Regions from separate parts of the Homo sapiens genome. Here region 1 is linked to region 2. The links are contacts of gene promoters, found by promoter capture Hi-C in blood cells and fetal thymus (Javierre and others, 2016). All regions are on one chromosome and are shown on one strand. Each heading gives the region's core, a stretch centred on a gene start or on the middle of the fragment in contact. The rest is flanking DNA. Distances are from core to core; before and after follow the strand shown.

Region 1 (6,879 bases), core at 1,662-4,161, 360 kb before region 2:
CCACGCCCAGCCAAATATATTCTTTTTTTTTTTTTTTTTTTTTTTTGAGACAATGTCTCACTCTGTCTCCCAGGCTGGAGTGCTTTGGCAAGATCTCTGCTCATTGCAACCTCCACCTCGTGGGTTCAAGGATTTTCCTGCGTCAGCTTCCTGAGTAAGTGGGGTACAGGCATGCACCACCACGCTCAGCTTATTTTTGCATTTTTAGTAGAGACTGGGTTTTGCTATGTTGGCCAGGCTAGTCTTGATCTCCTGATCTCAGGTGATGTGCCAGCCTTGGCCTCCCTAAGTGCTGGGATTACAGCCATGAGCCACCTCACCCGGCCATCAAGTATATTCTTTATCATATAGCTGGCAATGTTTTTTCTAGTTTGCTGTTTACTTTTAGGGGAAATCTCTTGACCATCAGTGAGTAAAACACTAGAATAGGCTGTTATAATGCTTGTAATATCTTGACATGAGGAAAATTCTAGGATGGCTGGAATTTGTAAAATCAAGTCTGTTGAATAAATTTATGAATTAAAACAAGGGGGAAAAAGCCTACTTTTGGGTACAAATGTGATTTGACTATAAAATTCTGGTATTCATTTAATGTTTTTTACAGTTATGTGCCATCTGAGTTAGAGGGGTTGCATTTAAAATTGGGGAGAAGCTAGCTCAATAAAATTGATCAGATTAAAAATCCTCAATAGTATATGTAAATAATAACTATCTGATATTTAATTATACATATAGGATAAATTAGGTTTTCTGTCTATCTATTTTATTTTATTTTTGAGACAGGGTCGAACTCTTTCCCAGGTGGGAGTGCAGTGGCGGGATCTCAACTCACTGCAGCTTCAACCTCCCTGGGCTCAGGTGATCCTCCTGCCTCAGCCTCCCGAGTAGCTGGGACTATAGGGGCATACCACCGTGCCTGGCTAGTTTTTTTGTATTTTTCGTAGAGATGAGTTGTCACTGTGTTGTGCAGCCTGGTCTGGAACTCATGAGGTCAAGTGATCTGCCTGCCTCGTCTCCCAAATTGCTGGGATTTACAGGTGTGAGCCACTGCACCTGGCCTATTTTATTTCATTTTTATTACTATTTTTTTGAGATGGAGTCCCGCTCTGTTGCCCAGACGGAGTGCAGTGGCGTGATCTCTACTCACTGCAACCTCCGCCTCCCAGGTTCAAGCGATTCTCCTGCCTCAGCCTCCTGAGTAGCTGGGATTATAGGTGCCTGCCACCATGCCCAACTAATTTTTTTTTTTTTTTTTTTAGTAGAGACGGGGTTTCACCATGTCGACCAGGCTGGTCTCGAACTCCTGATGTCAAGGGATGCACCTGCCTTGGCCTCCCAAAGTGCTGGGATTACAGGTGTGAGCTACTGCGCCCAGCCTATTTTTTATTTATTTATTTTTTCTAGATCTGGGTTCTCACTATGTTGCCCAGGCTGGCCTGGAACTCCTTCACTCAAGCCATCCTCCCACCTTAGCCTTCCAAGTAGCTGAGCTTATAGATAGGAGCTACCATACCTTGTACTTCACTAAGGTTTTTAATTTAGTTTATCAATATTAAAAAATATGGACACATTTTTAATATTTAATGAGAAGTAGTAGAAAAATGGAATTCACTTTAAGGCTCACTTTTCTGTCTTTTTCTCCCAGAGAGTATATTGGTAGAAAAGCTTATCCAAATTTTACTTATTTTAGTTTCAGGGATACTTTCATATAATAAATTTGTGAATTATTTTATTTTTATGGCTTATATCAGGCACATATATGAATATTTGTATATTAAGGAGGTATGATGGTAGAATGTACAAAAATGTTTTTTAAAAAACTCACTGTTGCTTTTCTAGAATTTTTCTTATTTCAGTTTGTCTGTATAAATATTCTCTATAGATAAGTGACTTTTAAGGAAAAGCTGTTATATTCATTACATAGCTTGTTGCAAATAGGAAATCTAGCCCTATTATTGTTGGTATGAAACTAACAAGCTTTTCTGAAAGCCATATTTTAGTGTTTTGGCACTGTGTGGTAGCATTACCTTCCCGTGCCATGTTGAAAGCAAGAAACATGTTCTACAAAGCACATTTTTTTCAAATAGCATTTGAGTTTTTAAATGAAAACAGAAGCTGAGGTAAGGCTATATTGTATTCTTGCAAAATACATTTTTGTTTTATTGTGACCTGTGTGTAGGTTCATTTTTTCTAGGATGTTTGAAAAGTTTCTTTCTTTTTTTTTTCTTTTTCCTGAGACAGAACTGTCTCAGAAAAGTGATAGATGTCAGTTCTTGCTCAGTGGTCCAGGCTGCAGTGCAGTGGTGCGAACTCGGCTCACTGCAACCTCTGCCTCCTGGGTTCAAGCGATTCTCCCACTTCAGCCTCCCAGATAGCTGGGACTACAGGTGTGTGTGCCACCATGTCCGGCTAATTTTTGTAATTTTAGTAGAGTTGGGGTTTCACCATGTTGGCCAGGCTGGTCTCAAACTCCTGACCTCGAGTGATCCGCCCACCTTGGCCTCCCAAAATGCTGGGATTACAGTACAGGTGTGAGCCGCTGTGCCTGGCCAAAAGTTTCTGATATAAAGCTGGCAGGAAGTCAGTGACAATTATTAAGTCTTGGAAGAAAAATTTCTAAGTTTCTCCTGAGAAGAAATTTCTGAAGAAACATCTTGTAGATAATGTAGTTTCACAGTAAAGTTTTTTTATTTTTATTTTTTTAATTTGAGGCAGAGCCTTGTTCTGTCACCCAGGCTGGAGTGCAGTGGTGTGATCTCAGCTCACTGCAGCCTCCGCCTCCCAGGTTCAAGTGATTCTCATGCCTCAGCCTCCCAAGTAGCTGGGATTACGGGCATGTGCCACCACACTTGGCTAATTTTTTTTTTTTTTTTTTGGAGACAGAGTCTTGCTCTATCACCAAGGCTGGAGTGCAGTGGCGTGATTTTGGCTCACTGCAACCTCCGCCTCCCAGGTTTAAGCAGTTCTCCTGCCTCAGCCTCCTGAGTAGCTGGGATTACAGGCGCACGCCACCACACCCAGCTAATTTTTTTTTTTTTTTTTTGTGACGGAATCTCGCTCTGTAGCCAGGCTGGAGTGCAGTGGCATGATCTTGGCTCACTGCAACCTCCGCTTCCCAGGCTCAAGCGCTTCTCCTTCCTCAGCCTCCTGAGTAGCTGGGATTATAGGTGCCTGCCACCATGCCCAGCTAATTTTTGTATTTTTAGTAGAGATGGGGTTTCACCATGTTGGCCAGCATGGTCTCGATCTCCTGACTTCATGAGCCGCCCACCTCTGCCTCCCAAAGTGCTGGGATTACAGGCAGGAGCCACCATGCCCGGCAATTTTTGTATTTTAAGTAAAGACAGGGTTTCACCATGTTGGCCAGGTTGGTCTTGAACTCCTGACCTCAAGTGATTCGCCCACCTCGGCCTCCCAAAGTGCTGGGATTACAGGCGAGAGCCACAGCACCCAGCCTCATGGTAAAGTTTATATAGAAAAATGTATTCTCTGTGGAAACAAAACTTATTTGTGTGCCATTGTTTCATTTCTGACCCGGGCTGAGCTTTTATTTCTCTGTGCAGATCCATTTCCTTTGATGGTACATCCTGTCTTGGATGTTGACCCCAGTCAGAGCTGTATAGTGCCAAAACAAGATAGTTCTTTGGTTCTTTTTTGCCATTTCTTTCAACTCCTTGTTTATCTTTACTCATGGTCATTGAAGATCAGAAGGGTATTTAGGAACAAATGGGAATTCTATGTGTTCCTTCAGTGTTAGGGGAACACCAGGGAGACGCAATATCATTTTAATATTGGGTTTTCACCTTTCCTGATGCCCACTAGGTCTAAGGAAACATCAAGCTTATTTTACAGCTTGATATAAGAAACTTTGTAATTACCAAATTAAGCTTTAGACACCTCAGTGTTTTGGAGTACTTACTGATATCTATAATACATATTCCTAGGGCCTATGCCTTTCCATATAAATTTTACTTATTTTTTGAGACAAAGTCTCACTCTGTCCCCCTGGCTGGAGTGCAGTGCTGTGATCTTGGGATCTTGGCTCACTGCAACCTCCACCTCCCAGGTTCAAGTGATCCTTCCACCTCAGCCTCCTGTGTAGCTGGGACTACAGACACGCGCTAGCATGCCCTGCTAATTTTTTATATTTTTAGTAGAGACTGGGTTTCATCATGTTGGCTAGGCTGGTCTCGAACTCCTGGGCTCAAATGATCTGCCCACCTCGGCCTTCCAAAATGTTGGAATTACAGGCATGAGCCACCAAGCCTGGCCAAATTATTAAATGTTTTTGAACCTCACTTCCCTTATCTGTGAGATTAGGATAATAATAACCTACCTGAGCAAATTAAATGAAGTGATAGATGTCAGTTCTTAGCACAGTAGCCATAATGTTATAGGGACTCTAAATTTCAGTTTTCTTTTTCCCTTCCTTGAGCTGATTTAAGTTTTAAAAGATAGTGATTGTAAAATTACTCGTAAATGTATACAGTTATTTCAAATATTGTTCATGTTTGTGTTAAAAACAGTCAAACTCATTTTGGTTATGTTGGTATAAGAGGGAAACGTAGGGAAATGAGACAATAGAGAAAGTCTGAATAACTGTTTTTTTTTGTTTTTTTTGTTTTTGAGATGGAATCTCGCTCTGTTGCCCAGGCTGGAGTGCGGTGTCATGAACTCGGCTCACTGCAACCTCCGCCTCCCGGGTTCAAGCAATTCTTTTGTCTCATCCCCTGAAGTAGCTGGGACCACAGGCACGCGCTACCATGCCCGGCTAATTTTTGTATTTTTGTTAGGGACAGGGTTTCACCATATTGCCCAGGCTGGTCTTGGACTCCTGACTTCGTGATCCACCCGCCTTGGCCTCCCAAATTGCTGGGATTATAGGCATGAGCCACCGTGCCCGGCCAAATCTGAATAACTTGTTGAGTAATATCGTGTGGCAGGAGCTAGGCTTAACACTTCGCACACTGCAACTCATTTAATCCTTACTACTCAATTAAGCACATTTCTTCCTCTGAAGGATTACTTCTTAGTTTTCTTTTTTTTTTTTTTTTTGAGACGGAGTCTTGCTCTGTCTCCCAGGCTGGGGTGCAGTGGCGTGATCTTGGCTTACTGCAACCTCCGCTTCCCGGGTTCAAGCAATTCTCGTGTCTCAGCCTCTCAAGCAGCTGGAATTACAGTGCATGCCACCATCCCTGGGAAATTTTTTGCGTTTTTAGTAGATACAGGGTTTTACCATGTTGGTCAGGGTGATCTTGAACTCCTGAGCTCAGGCTCTCCATCCTCCTCCGGCTCCCAAAATGTTGGGATTACAGGCGCGAGCCACCGTACCCGGCCTACTTCTTAGTTTTTAAAATTAAAGTTTTCGTATTTCCACCCTTTTGAATAATAAGCCTCAGGAATGGGGCTCTTAATAACTTAATGCAGACTTCAAACTTTGTATAGAATATGACAAATAATTAAAGACTTTTATTTCTAAGCTACCATCCTTTGTATTTGGAGACTATGTTCTTTAGGCTAAGTCTTCTTTCTGTTTATTTTTTTTTTTCTTTTTTTTTTTTTTTTAAGCAAACTCTAGGAATGATTTTGTGGAAACCAGGTCTCACTGTCCTGCAAGATGGAGTGCAATGGCAGGATTATGGCTCACTGCAGCCTCCACCTCCTGGACTCAAGTGATCCTCCTGAGTAGTTGGGACTACAGGTGCATGCCACCACACCTGGCTAATTTTTGTATTTTTTGTAGTGATGGGGTTTCACCATGTTGCCCAGGCTGGTCTCAAACTCCTGGGCTCAAGCTATCCTCCTACCTTGGCCTCCCAAAGTGCTGGGATTACAGGCATGAGCCTCTGTGCCTGGTCAATATTTACTTTCTAATTCCTGCCTCTAGAAATATATTAGCTGCCCTGAACATATTAGGTTTTTCAGTTGTATGAAACTGTTCAGTTAGGTAGTTGGGAGTAATGAATTTGATGCCTATTGGTCCATTTCTTTTTTTTTTTTTTTTTTTGAGATATTGTCTCGCTCTGTCACCCAGGCTGGAGTGCAGTGGCACGATCTTGGCTCACTGCAACCTCCACCTCCCAGGTTCACACCATTCTCCTGCCTCAGCCTCCCAAGTAGCTGAGACTGCAGGTGCCCGCCACCACACCTGGCTAATTTTTTTGTATTTTTAGTAGAGACAGGGTTTCACCGTGTTAGCCAGGATGGTCTCGATCTCCTGACCTTGTGATCTGCCCACCTCGGCCTCCCAAAGTGCTGGGATTACAGGCGTGAGCCACTGCGCCCGGCGCCTATTAGTCCTTTTCAACAAATATCACTAGTAAGGCTTGAATTGTTTTTTGAAATGAGAAAAGCAGCAGATTGTTTATTTGAATTTGAATTTAGAGTGTTTCTCTCTCAACATCTTATACTGATCAGGCTAAGAGATGGGCTCTCCTGTGTTGCCCAGGCTGTACTCGAACTCCTAGGCTCAAGTAATTCCTTCCCACCTCAGCCTCCTGATTGGCTGGGACTACAGGTGAGCAGCATCACACCCCACTTTGTGTTTTGATTAGTTCTCTTTATTTTTTAAAAAATTGTGGTAAAATACACATAATATTTATCATCTTAACCATTTTAAGTGTACAGTTCAGTAGTGTTGCATACATTCACATTGTTGTGCAGCCAATCTTCAGCACTCTCATTTTTTTTTTTTTTTTTTTTTTTTTTTTGAGACAGCCTCACTCTGTCGCCCAGGCTGGAGTGCAGTGGGGTGATCTCAGCTCACTGCAACCTCTGCCTCCTGGGTTCAAGTGATTCTCCTACTTCAGCCTCCCGAGTGGCTGGGATTACAGGACTGTACCACCACGCCTGGCTAATTTTTGTATTTTTAGTAAAGAC
Region 2 (7,044 bases), core at 1,039-3,538:
TTAAACAAATTAGTTTTTTCTCATCTAATGAAAAGTCCAGGGCTCGTACCGCAGCTCCACAATGTCATCAGGGACCCAAAATCTATCTTTGTGCTCCACCAATTGTAGCCTGCAGTTTCTATCCCTCATAGTTGCAAGACAGCCAGCGTAGCTTACTATCATATTCATGTTTCAGGCAAGATAAAGAACAATAAGGGGAAAAGGAAAAAGGGGCCATGCTACTTCAGTTCCCTTTAAAGGACTTTCCCTAAATAAAGGGCTTCTCCAGGTGTCCTACCCAATGACTTTAGTTTACATTTCATTGGGTGGCAATTGGTCATGACTACCTCTAGCTGCATGGGAAGCAGGAAAATGTGGCTTTTTAGCTGACTGCATTACTGCCTTGAAAAGAAATTAAGATTTTGTTAGTAAGAAAAAATAGGTATTCTGTAGGCTCCTAGATGTCTCTACTACATATCTAGATTCTAAAACTAAAACCAGATCTAATATAAGCCTATGATTTCTGTCTCTGATTCCCTGATATCACTTGCCAGATGGGAATACTATGCATTAGCCAAGAGATGCTGGTAATAATGTGAACACTTTTTAAAAATAAAAAAAGTAAATTTTAATGAAGTTATCTTACAAAAAAATGTACAAATCATGACCGTGCATAGTGCTTGATGAATTTTCACAAAGTAAACATATCCATGTAACCAGGACAAGGTTCTAAGGTCTTCTACTGGAGTTTTCATGAAGTAGGGAAATAGGAAGAGCCAATTCCATCCCAGGGAACTATGTTCTTTAGCCGTAGCCCCACAAAAGAGGGGTCTTCAAAGCCACATAAAGTATATCACGTATGACATATATCTTTCCCTTTCTTCCTCTTTCATGTAGCTGAAATTGAAAGATGAGGCTCTGCTTGCAGAGATCCACACACTACAGGAAACAGTTGGCTTTGGAAATCCATCTTTCTGATACCCCTCCAGCTGAACAATTTTCTGCATGGGACTCTGAGTTCCTTTCCTTCCCAGAGAGTTTTACCGTATGAAGCCTGGAGCTGGAGAACGAAAGAATCTTCACTATAAACAGAGACCCATTCATTTATTTCCATTGGCTGTGTTACTGGATGTTTTACTGGTTGACGAGAAACTGGGTCACAATAAAAAAATGGAGATATGAAACTCAAAATTCATCAGCATGGTTCTGGAGTTAACGTATACTGAGTTACATGTAGGTATTTAGTTATATAAATAACTATAGTGTAATTGCTATAATAATTATATGGCATATATATACATACAATAAAATTAAGGTATAGTGGGGTCATTATTAGGGTTTCTGATGAAAGCTTATTGGATCACTCCTGGAGGAAGTCAGGTGCTAAGGTTTCTGGACAGGTTCAGTTAACTGAAATACAGGAATTAAGGCATCATTTTCAAAGGTGGCCCTGGAGGAAGACTGCTATGCTGGGTCACTGTATTAGGGCAAAGAGCATGCTAGCCCTTTGGAACTAACAGTAAACGAAAAAGCTGAACAGAGAGGTCTTTGCTGAAGGTGGAGCTATTGACACCTTCTCACCAAACACAGGCATCTTCATGGATCTAAACCACTAGGGCTCCAAGGAGACACCGTTACCCTCATCACCGAGGTCATATTCTAGGGCTACAGATAAAAAAAAAAAAAATCATACTTCACCTCTGCCCTGGATCACAGCACGGCAAAAGCAGGAATAACCCCTCCTTTTTTTTTTAAGGTGTGACTGCCTCGATAGGGGTGGGACGACAACAGGAGAAAAGGTGAGAGGTAAATTAATTTTGGTTAACGAGAAGGATAAAGTAAAATCTAGTCACTTACAATCCTTCTCCTAGTCTCGGCCCTGACACTACCTCCTCTGTGAAGTCTTCCTTAGCAAGCACTAGGTTTGCCTTCTCTGCTCGCTGTCCTTGCGCTGAGTACTACTGATCGCGCTAGTTTCTCTGCTGTCATCTCACGGTCTCCCCAGCGGACTGTGAGCTCCACGAGGAAAGAACAGCGCCCTTTAGTATTTGCGTTCTCAGCGTTGCGCCTCGGCACCAACGCTTGCAAGATGGATGGCTTTTGTAGCACTTTCCTTGGCGCGCCTGGGATTCGCCTAAAACTTCTGACTCCAGCAGGGACTCACAAGTCTGAGAGGGATCGCACCGCCACTCCCACAAGACACCACGAGAAACGCCTCTTTTGCAGCAGTTTAAGGTACGTTAGGGGTCACCGTGTTGCATTGTGGGAAGTATAGGGCGGCAAGCGGAGGAGGCGTGGCGAGCGGATCATCCGCTTCCGGAGTCGAGGTTTTCGGGCTTGTACCGCTTGGCGGTGCGGCCTGGTGTCGGCTTGCAGGTTCTTTCTGTGTTTGTTCTCTGCCCTGCCAAGGCCGTAGAGCTGGTGCGTGCGGGTAGCGGGGCTCTCCGAGGAGCCGCACGCCGGCGGCACCATGGTCCACCTCAGTGAGTCATCGGGCCACCGCGAGACGTTCCGGGCGGTCACGGGGCTCGGGAGTTCGGGGCCGGGTGGGGAGAGCTCTCCCAGGCGCGATGGAGGCAACCCGAACCTGAAGCAGCCACACTGCCTTACATTTGATCCTTCTCTCAGTTTTTTCCCCACTTAATCACCGCTGAAAAATTTCCACCCCATTGAAGCAGCTAAGGCTCCGACAAGGTCACAGAGCCTAGTGAATGGCAAGCCCATGCGGGGTGGGTTTGGGTATGAGGAGGAGGTCATTGCTGGCTGGACTGGCCAAGAGGGGTTTCACAAAGAAGAGTAGCATCTAAACTGGATTGACAGGAATGGATTGGAAGTGAGACATTTCAGTGGGAAAAGGGAATTGTGCCGTCTGTGTCATTTTGTCCTTTTTGTGCTGTTTTTTGTGTCCTAACCAGCTGCTTTTCTACAGCTACTCTCCTCTGCAAGGCCTACCGTGGGGGCCACTTAACCATCCGCCTTGCCCTGGGTGGCTGCACCAATCGGCCGTTCTACCGCATTGTGGCTGCTCACAACAAGTGTCCCAGGGATGGCCGTTTCGTAGAGCAGCTGGGCTCCTATGATCCATTGCCCAACAGTCATGGAGAAAAACTCGTTGCCCTCAACCTAGACAGGATCCGTCATTGGATTGGCTGCGGGGCCCACCTCTCTAAGCCTATGGAAAAGCTTCTGGGTAACTCAGCTCTGGTCTTACCTTATTGAGGGGATTTTAAACTGAAGTCAGCTCCAGGACAGTAGGTGTAAGAATGATTTTCGGCTGGGCACGGTGGCTCACGCCTGTAATCTCAGCGCTTTGGGAGGCCGAGGCGGGCGGATCACCTGAGGTCAAGAGTTTGAGACCAGAGTGGCCAACATGGTGAAACGCTGTCTCTACTAAAAATAAAAAAAAAAAATTAGTTGGGCGTGGTGACACGCACCTGTAGTCTCAGCTACTGGGGAGGCTGAGGCAGGAGAATCGCTTGAACCCAGGAGGCGGAGGTTGCAGTGAGCCAAGATCGCGTCACTGCACTCCAGTCTGGGCAACAGAGGGCGATTCCATCTCAAAGAAAAAAAAAAAAGAGTTATTTCATTCCCTCTAGGCTGTTCAGGACTGAAGTGGGAGCTGAAGTTGTGATCTAATTGGCATTTTGAATCTGGAGGCCCCTTTTGTGGACTCCTTTGTAAGACTTTGGGTGACTGGTATTTTATGCTAAAAATAGGAATAGTATGTTTTGAATGGCCATCTGTCAGTTTACGTTTTTTAAAGTAAGGGGAATATTGTTAGGGAAGTAGACATCCACTGTCTCCTTGCCGGGGAGAAGTAGTACAGAGTTTGGCAAGTGAGGAGCATGGTTTGCATCCATGCACTGGGTCAGATCTCAGACCTCAGTTCTGTGAGACAGAGTTCCTAGGGAAGCATTGGCTTATACTGTGTTATAATAAGTGAAAAATCTGTTACTTTTAGGTCTTGCTGGCTTTTTCCCTCTGCATCCTATGATGATCACAAATGCTGAGAGACTGCGAAGGAAACGGGCACGTGAAGTCCTGTTAGCTTCTCAGAAAACAGATGCAGAAGCTACAGATACAGAGGCTACAGAAACATAAATGAGCTGACTTTAGTGAGCATAGCAGTGGGAACAAGGTCAAGGTCCTTTTGAAACACTGCAGCGATCTTAATTTTGTTAGATTTGGAGTTCAATAAATGGAGTATCCTGAGTTGCCCTTGCTCTTCTGGCCTGGCCTGCACAGGGCCCAGGGAGAGATTTGTTCTTGTGTGACTTAGAGCTGGGTGTGGGTACTAATTAGCTTTTTTCGACTTTGTCTTGGGATAGACAGTGGCTATGGGAGGATTGGACTTTTGAGTTGGGCTCTGGGTCTCTTGGACAACTTTACAATTTACTGGCTTCCAAGACTTCCTGCTTCAAAACCCCCAGCCAGACTATTCATGGCCCATTCAGATCTTCATGTTCATCCCACAAGTGCAAGAACAGTTAACCTTTCTTAATTGATTTTTGTAATTGGAGGTTTATATTGTCTTGCCTAATGCATATTCTCTTTTTTTTTTTTTTTTTGAGACGGAGTCTTGTTCTGTTGCCAGGCTGGAGTGCGGTGGTGCAATCTCAGCTCACTGCAATCTCCACCTCCTGGGTTCAAGAGGTTCTCCTGCCTCAGCCTCCTGAGTAGCCGGGGAGCTACAAGCATGCACCACCACACCCAGCTAATTTTTTTTTTTTTTTTGAGAGGAGTCTCGCTCTGTCGCCCAGGCTTGAGTGCAGTGGCGCGATCTCGGCTCACTGCAAGCTCTGTCTCCTGGGTTCATGCCATTCTCCTGCTTCAGCCTCCCGAGTAGTCCCAGGAGTAGCTGGGACTACAGGTGCCCACCACCACACCCAGCTAATTTTTTTGTATTTTTAGTAGAGATGGGGTTTCACCATGTTATCCAGGATGGTTTTGATCTCCTGACCTCGTGATCCGCCCGCCTTGGCCTCCCAAAAGTGCTGGGATTATAGGCGTGAGCCACCGCCCGGGCAAATTTTTGTATTTTTAGTAGAGATGGGGTTTCACCGTGTTGGCCAGGATGGTCTCAATCTGACCTTGTGATCTGCCCACCTCGGCCTCCCAAAGTGCTAGGATTACTGGCGTGAGCCACCACTCCTAGCCTTAATGCATATTCTTAAATATACAAAGGTAGATTTGTTATGAAAATTGCTTTGGGGCTCTAATAACCTACCTTTTAAGAATGAGAAACTGCTGGGCTTAAGGGAGTTCAGTATGAATCAAGATTGAACCATTCAAATGTGGCTGTGATTTCTGCATATATCATAGATGGGATCCTTCTGAGAATACTGGAATAGGGAATTAGGACACCAAGCCAATTCAGCTGTGAACCTTATTCTTGTACTTTTCTTTCTTGCTGGTAATTTTATGGAGCAGGTTAAGAAGGCTGCTCTGTGTTAGGATAAACTGTATACCAATAATGTTGACAACCTGTAATGAGTGTTGCATTTTACTTCTTGTATCTTTTCCTTCCTACCTTGATGCCAGTAATCTATAAGGGATCTTTATAGTTTGAATGTATTTGAATAACTTCAGTATACTTTAGTTCTACTTTTTTATTTGACTCACAACCATTCTTAGGTCTCAAGTATTCCCATGTGTTTTAAAAGCCTGAAGTCAGTGAGATGAAATTCAACATCAAGAATTTGAAGTAACTTGTAAGGAAAAATAATATAAAGATACCATTGGGGCAGTGGCTCACACCTGTAATCTCAGCACTTTGGGAGGCTGAGGTGGAAGGATCACTTGAAGCCAGAGTTTGAGACCAGCCTGTGCAACACAGCAAGACCCCGTCTCTACAAAAACTTAAAAAATTAGCTGGCTGTGGTGTTGCTCACCCATAGTTCCAGCTACTCGGGAAGCTGAGGCAGTAAGATCACTTGAGCCCAGGAGGCCGATGCTGCAGTGAACTGTGATTGTTCCACTACAGTCCAGCCTGGGTGACAGAGAAAAGAAAAAGAAAACATTACATAATTTGGCTAGAGCATAATAATTTGATTTTCTGGTTTTTGAAAATTTGAGTTGCAATAAAAGGATATTTCAGTGTGCGATTTCAATTTTCCGTAGCAAATGTATATATAGAAAAATGTTAAAATAGATGTATTTGAATACCTTAAAAAATACAAGAAACTGGAAGAAAGATAATATTGCAAAGCATCTACATATATCCTAGGCCTTTTGTGTACAAGGTTATTTGTGACAATTGTAAGGTATTATGAAGGCAGGTAGGATTATCTCCGTTTTACAGATAGGGAAGCTGAGGCCTAGAGGTGGAAACTTGCCCAGTGATGTAAGATTCATCTCCCGGTTATGCCCTCCTGGAAAGCCCTTCCCAACATATTATGTTGTCCATAGAGGGAAAAATGAGCAAAGACAGATGGCTTAACTCTGGTGTGTGACTAAGATATAGGAAATTTATAGAGGAGGTTCTATCAATGTGCCGACTTACTTTGTGTTTTATGTTCTGAGAACGATTACCAGCCATCTCAAATTCTGTGGTTGTCAAAGCTCCCCTGGGGTTGTTGCTGGTTGGCCCCCACTTGCTTTGAGACTTTGATGCCAGGGCAGGTTGAGAGGAACTGACTTCAGCTGAGTTTGATCTTGGATCTGGGAAAGAGAAATGCTTTGAAAATCACGGCAACTCTGGGAAGTTTAAAAGATATTAATGTATCCTGGAGAGTTTGAGGCTTTGCAGAAACTTATTGGCAGAGCAGAATGATTCTGAAAAATGCTACATCAGTGAGGGGATATTTGATAAGGTATTTTCTGCCAACTCGGGTATTCACTTAGCATTGTTTATCCTTTAAGATATGTATACACATACTTCCTCTGTGAGTTTACCCTACTAACAAAGTTTTATCCCCAGCCTCAACCTTGCTTTGGGTCTCCAGGCCCAAGTTTCTCACCATCTCTTGGATGATTGCTCCAGCCCACTCTGCTGCCACCTGGGATCCAACATGTTCAAACCCAGCTGTGAACTTCACAGAGTATTAAAAGAAAGAGCCTTTGCTT

Evidence for each region. The method cuts DNA at HindIII sites, captures the fragments that hold promoters and counts their contacts. A CHiCAGO score of 5 or more calls a contact.
Region 1: a fragment that was not itself captured here is called in contact with the fragment with the promoter of MRPS16 in region 2 in 3 of 17 cell types (erythroblasts, megakaryocytes and endothelial precursors); the score reaches 6.3 in erythroblasts.

What each region holds. Positions count from the first base shown.
Region 1 is chr10:73,606,007-73,612,885 of GRCh38, reverse strand. It overlaps a transcript of USP54 not described here. Among named protein-coding and RNA genes, the nearest start is that of USP54, 18 kb to the right of the region's middle. The HindIII fragment of the contact is 1,863 bases long and covers 1,980-3,842 here.
Region 2 is chr10:73,247,888-73,254,931 of GRCh38, reverse strand. It overlaps MRPS16 (mitochondrial ribosomal protein S16), which reads left to right and starts at 2,288. Exons shown (of 3, transcript NM_016065.4): 1 at 2,288-2,462; 2 at 2,909-3,169; 3 at 3,941-6,083. The coding sequence starts at 2,450. The coding sequence ends at 4,080. It overlaps CFAP70 (cilia and flagella associated protein 70), which reads left to right. Exons shown (of 28, transcript NM_001367801.1): 28 at 877-1,170. The coding sequence ends at 957. DNAJC9-AS1 (DNAJC9 and MRPS16 antisense RNA 1) reads right to left here. Exons shown (of 4, transcript NR_038373.1): 2 at 6,482-6,639. RefSeq lists enhancers at 1,893-2,152, 2,273-2,562, 2,002-2,569, 7,036-7,044. The HindIII fragment of the contact is 1,832 bases long and covers 1,333-3,164 here.